Regions from separate parts of the Homo sapiens genome. Here region 2 is linked to region 1. The links are contacts of gene promoters, found by promoter capture Hi-C in human tissues and cell types (Jung and others, 2019). All regions are on one chromosome and are shown on one strand. Each heading gives the region's core, a stretch centred on a gene start or on the middle of the fragment in contact. The rest is flanking DNA. Distances are from core to core; before and after follow the strand shown.

The links. The method cuts DNA at HindIII sites, captures the fragments that hold promoters and counts their contacts. A contact is called where the count stands out against the background at its distance.
Region 2: a contact is called between a fragment that was not itself captured here and the fragment with the promoter of MEDAG in region 1, in 1 of the 25 tissues and cell types used here (dorsolateral prefrontal cortex).

What each region holds. Positions count from the first base shown.
Region 1 is chr13:30,904,782-30,907,760 of GRCh38, forward strand. It overlaps MEDAG (mesenteric estrogen dependent adipogenesis), which reads left to right and starts at 1,490. Exons shown (of 5, transcript NM_032849.4): 1 at 1,490-2,012. The coding sequence starts at 1,735. The region is part of intron 2 of TEX26-AS1 (TEX26 antisense RNA 1); the gene reads right to left. RefSeq lists an enhancer at 2,091-2,592. The HindIII fragment of the contact is 12,319 bases long and covers 1-2,979 here.
Region 2 is chr13:30,467,039-30,470,201 of GRCh38, forward strand. It overlaps a transcript of HMGB1 not described here. Among named protein-coding and RNA genes, the nearest start is that of HMGB1, 2.7 kb to the left of the region's middle. The HindIII fragment of the contact is 6,825 bases long and covers 1-3,163 here.

The sequences.
Region 1 (2,979 bases), core at 240-2,739:
GTGACCTCAGAGCTTAAGATGGTCCCTGGTGCATAGTGATGACTCTGTCAATGTTTGGGACAAGAGTGAAGTTCTAAATAGGGCACAATGGATTTAACTGCTGGCACCAAATCCCTCCCCTGTGAAAACAGCCCCAGCCTCTGAGTCCTGTCTACAGTCTCAGCCCACCCCAGACCCATTCTCTTTGCAGGGATCCTCAAACCTCCCTTTGCAAGAAGATCTTCTGGATGCTTTTTTCACAGGTAGAGCATCCTTCCTGCGCCACAAAAGGTTGAGTGGGTAGTGATCAATTCATGCTCAGTGAATTAGATTTGTTCAGAGAGGCCCAGAGATGGGGTAATGATCCCATGGGTAAAAGATCCATGTCTGGAGAAAGGATAGGTGTGCACCTAGAAGAAGAGAAGAGAGTGGGGCTCATTTATATTCTGAGATTTAAATGAGATGTGGCGGGAGGACTCTTCATCCCATCTGATTAAACCTACACAAGAGTTCATGTGGGGGCACACAAAGACTAACTAAGGATATTCTCTACGTTCTACTCAACTTTTGGGATGTAGCTTAGAATCCTAAAACACAGTACTACAGAAAGCCTCGAAACTAGGCTAGATTCTCCTCCCATCCCATCCAGGCTTCTCCGCAGCAGAAATAGGTGTTTAATTAAATGGAATAATATAGTTCTCCTTTCATACCTCAGGAGATCAATGAGCCCATAGCTAGCACTCACATATTTATAGACTGAAGAAATGAACATATTCTGGGGCTCAAGGAGATCACCACCTACTGGGGAGGCAGGGGAGAAGGGAGGATGCTAGGACCCTGCTATCCCCACTACACGGCACATTGCAGTCTAGGGTTCACCGTGCAGTAGAAAGGAGAAGCAAAGCGATGAAACCCTCGTGGGATTCGTGAAGGCTTTATGGAAAAGCGATGTGATGATCAGTGGGATTTCTAGGGGGAAGGGATCCAGGGCCAGCAACCAGCTGAAGGAAAGGCTGAAAGGAGGGAAATGCAGGGTACGATCTGGATGGAGTTAAAATGGCAGAAAACTGAGGCTGAGTGAGAGGTCTGGTACTGAGGTGGGGATCGGAGTTCCAGCACTGGCCTTTGACAGCCTCTGGGTCCCAGGTGGAATGGGTAGGGCCAGAGCCCTTGCCTTCTTCTCCAATCAACACCAGGGGTGTGGTGTCTTAGGCAAGGATGGGTGCTGTGCGCCCTGCCGCCCACCATAGGCAGGGCCTGGGAACCCGGGGAGGACTCTCCCCACCTCCAGCCTCCGGCAGTGTCCGCCAGGCAGGGCGGGGGCCAGCGCTGGTGTTGAGTAGTGGACCCCAGGGGGATGACTAAGCCTTGCCTGCGAGCAGACTCGAGCATGCCAAGTTATGAGACGATGATAACTCTGCCCCGAGCCTCTGGGGTCGTGGCCGTGGGCCGGCAGGGGCGAGGCGGGCGTCCAGAGGGCGGATAAAAGGGGCCGCGCTGCGCCGGGGCCGCTTTCTCCGCGCGGTGCCTGCAGGGCTCCCAGCGAGTGGCAGCTTGGGAGGGGCCGCCCGGGCGGTCAGACTGGCACCTGAGCGGCCACCGCGTCCCGGCCAGGCGGGCAGACCGACCCCCTCCTCACCTCGCGCGCGGCTGACGCAGGCAGGGCGCCCGGCCCCTCCTGGGGACCATCAGGTGCCGGCTGGGGGCTGTAGGCACCGGACGGAAGCAGGCGGTGTGAGGACCGACGACGCGGGCATGGCGGGGGCGGCCTGCGAGCCGGTGGCCAGGCCGAGCCTGACCTCCATCTCGTCTGGGGAGCTTCGCAGCCTGTGGACCTGCGACTGCGAGCTGGCCCTGCTGCCGCTGGCTCAGCTGCTGCGCCTGCAGCCCGGTGCCTTCCAGCTGAGCGGCGACCAGCTCGTGGTGGCCAGGCCCGGGGAGCCGGCGGCGGCGCGGGGGGGCTTCAACGTCTTCGGTGACGGCCTCGTGCGCCTCGACGGGCAGCTCTACCGCCTCAGCAGCTACATCAAGAGGTGGGTGGCCTCGCCGTGCGCCCTGGCCCGTCGCCTGGTACCCGCAGACGCCTCCACCCGGCTGCGGTCTCTGGGAGCCTGGGCTGTCCTCGCTGCCTGCGACACCGCGTGGCCCCTTGCTCCGTGCGCTTCTAGACTTTCCTTCTGCTTCTATCACCCGGAGCCTGCACGCTCGCCCTGGTTCTTCTGCCTCTTGCACTGACATTTTGCAGCTGCTGCTTGAAGCCGCCCAGAAGGGCATCAGGACTGGGGGCGAGGGGGAGGGCAGGGGCCCCCCAGCCAGAGCTCATGAGTGGCAGATGCTTCTCCCATTCTGGCTCCTTAACTGGGTCAGATGAGCTCAAATTGGGAGCACACCCTTTAGGGGCTGTCTGCAGCTCTGCAAGACTCACATCCTGGCTTTGGAGCATGGGTGGCGGTGAGGAGCAGGGGGCATGCACCATTCTGAGCACTGCCAGCCCTCTCCAGTGAGGAGACCGAGTGGAGAAGCATGCAAAAGCTCAAAGTTTCCCATCTCTGGCCTCACTTCGTGTTTCAAAAGTAAACAAATAAACCGCAGCTGAGAAGGGAACAAAGCCCCTGGAAGTCCAGCCCGGGGCCATGTGGGCTGTGGAAGGCACAGATAAGTTCTGGGGAAATAAGTGCGAAACCTGAGGGCCTTAATGGGAAGGAGGCCCCCAGGATGCTTGACTGTTGTGGCCAGAGTGCCCCCAAGCTCTTCTTGGCAGACCGGCAGGATGTGGCCCAGCCATCTGAAGCAGGCTTTGGTGCCACAGGGTAAAGGAGGGCACTTCAGGCCTGATTCCACATGGCCTCAGGCCTCCAGAGTTCACTCTTGGCAAGGGCCTGGAGTGCAAAGACCTGTTATATTTGTGCTGAGAGAGCCAAGTGCCTGAAGAGGCAAGCATGGTCTAGAGTTTGACTCAGAAATGAATAAGATAGCCAGCTTTTGAGACACAGCGCCTTT
Region 2 (3,163 bases), core at 262-2,761, 440 kb before region 1:
GTTTCTCTAACTCACCAAGCTGGCTGGTATTAATAGACATACTTACGTCTGTAGAGAAAATGTGCTGGCTGTAGTGGCCAGTTCTGAAGACTCTACAGTTATATCAGTCCTTTATGAAACTACTATCTATTCCTTTTAGCCTGAGCAGACCACGCCCCTATTCAGTTATAACAGACTTCCCTTTTTTTTCACTCTCTAATGGTATTTTGTACACTTCTAAATCCAACAACCAATTCCTCCAAATGTAACAGATCAAATTTGGAATAAATCACCTACATCGTGTTAATTTGATTTTTTATATCGCTTATAAGCATCCATAACCTAATTTATTTCCTCAAATGTATTAAACTACTTGAGAGTAAGCTTAGATAATCTTTCCTGTTTTAATGTTGATTTCTTTTTAAAAGAAAATACACTATCGGACTCAGGGATTATAGTCTTGGTGAATGGACAATATATCACACATGCACATGAAAAAGACTATAATATTAAAGAGGATATAAATTGGTATACTGCACATGCAGTGTTTAAAGATAATATATCTAAAGTTAACTTTTATGTTATTATTTTCACACATATTTACTATCCTCTGCTTCCCTCTACTAATCATTCAAATTTTATATTTTTTAAATCTAGATATTTATTTCAATACTGTCTTATCTTCTCAATGTCTCATATTACAAAATATTCATGAGAATGATTAAGATACTTTCAGTGGCATCGATGATATTAAAATTTGACGATTAGTTGAATATGGCACTATCAATATTTTCCAGGAGCAGTGTTGGCTTTGTACTGGCACGGCCATACACTTTACTGGTTGTCTATACCAGCTTGCTCCTGCCAGGGTGCATTTATGGCCACAGGACATCTTGAGAGCAATGGGCCCACACAAGGTTTCTATTTTGACAGGATGATATGGTGAGTAATAGGCACTGGAATTGAATAGACTTGGGTGCAAATCCCAGCTCTGCTACTTACTAGCTGTATGATCTTGGGCATGTTTTTAAACCTCCATGCTTCAATTCTCTCAGCTATAAAATGGAGGGGACCACAGGGTTGTAAAGATTAAACTTTTTTTAATGTTTAAAATTATATAGACCCCTTCAATCCCATAATTTAGAAAACCTCAAGTGCAGTTAACCTTGAGTTTTTCTTCATATTTTAATCTTATATGAAGGCAGTGATTGCAAATCTAGTGAATTTTTTGTTGTTGTTGTTATTGTTGTTGTTTGAGACAGAGTTTTGCTCTTACTGCCCAGGCTGGAGTGCAGCGGTGCAATCTCGGCTCACTGCAACCTACACCTCCTGGTTCAATCGATTCTTCTGCCTCAGCCTCCCGAGTAGCTGGGAATACAGGCATGCGCCACCATGCCCGGCTAATTTTTTATTTTTAGTAGAGACGGGGTTTCACCATGTTGGTCAGGCTGGTCTTGAACTCTTGACCTCAGGTGATCCGCCCACCTTGGCCTCCCAAAGTGCTGGGATTACAGGCATGAGCCACTGCACCCGGCCTTGTTTTGTTTTTTTTAAATCCTAACCTCAAACAATGCTAATCTTCCCCTAGTCTGGTGATGGTACCTTTATTTATTCCCAAGTTTAACAGAGACTATATCAGAGAGAAGAGTTTAAAAACCACCACTTGCAGGCAATTCATTTCTTATATTTGATTTTCTGTGATATAGGCAGGGAAGAACATAAAAAAGACAGAAATTTTAAAATAAAACCAACATCTTCTAGCTCTAACCCCACAATCTTGATGTTCCTTTATGATATTAGACGCTTTTCTTCTTCCACATGAATCCTTAGTCACAAGTTGACATATTTTACTTTACAGTTATTGGGTTTTTGTTGTTGTTGTTTTTGTTTTTATGAGACAGGGTCTTGCTCTGTTGCCCAGGCTGGAGTGGAATGGCACGATCTCAGCTCACTGCAACCTCCACCTCCCGGGTTCAAGCAATTCTCGTGCCTCAGCCTCCCGAGTAGCTGGGACTACAGGCATGCACCACCATGCCTGGGTAATTTTGAATTTTTGATAGAGACGGTTTCACCATGTTGGTCAGGCTGGTCTTGAACTCCTGACCTCAAGTGATCTGCCCGCCTCAGCCTCCCAAAGTGCTAAGATTACAGGCATGAGCCCTGGTACCCGGCCAAGTTATTGGGTGTTTTATCCCAAATTACAAAGTCATCCAGTCGAAGAGGCCTGAACACCCTCTCCCATGCTCAATTTAAACAACTGAATTACAGATCGTCATTAATGTACTTTATGCCCTTCCTCCATCCCCTCTAGGATAGGGGACGTACCTCTTTTCTGTAATCCTGTAATATTGTGTATATTAATTACTGCAATCACAATTGTGGTTCTCCAGTTGTATCTGCTTGTCCCACTGCACTGTACACCTTAAAGGCAAGAACTCTGTATTTTTTGTTTTTTTTTTTCTAAGACAGGTTATGGCTGTATTGCCCAGGCTGGAGTGCAGTGCAGTGGCATGATCACGGCTCACTGCAGCCTTGACTTTCTGGGACTGAAGCCATCCTCCCACCTCAGCTTCCTGGGAAGCCAGGACTACAGGTGAGTGCCACCACGCCCGGCCTATTTATTTATTTATTTGAGACGGAGTCTCCCTCTGTCACCAGGCTGGAGTGCAGTGGCACAATCTTGGATCACTGCAACCTCTGCGTCCTTGGTTTAAGTGATTCCCCTGCCTCAGCCTCCCGAACAGCTGTGACTACAGGCGCGTGCCACCACGCCCAGCTTATTTTTGTATTTTTAGTGGAGACGGGGTTTCACCATGTTGGCCAGGATGGTCTCCATCTCTTGACCTTGTGATCCGCCCGCCTTGGCCTCCCAAAGTGCTGGGATTACAGGCATGAGCCACTGTGCCCAGCCCCAGCTAATTTATTTTTATTTTTATTTTTTGTAGAGACAAGGTCTCTCCATGTTGCCCAGGCTGGTCTCAAACTCATGGGCTCAAGTGATCCTCCTACCTTGGCCTCCCAAAGTGCTGGGATGACAGGCATGAACCACCGTGCCTGGTGCTGGCTATTTTTTTTTTTGTAGAGGCAGGGTCTCTCCATGTTGCTCAGGCTGGTCTCAAACTCCTTGGCCTCCCAAAATGTTGGGATTACAGGCATGAGAAACTGAGCCCAGCCCCTATCTTTG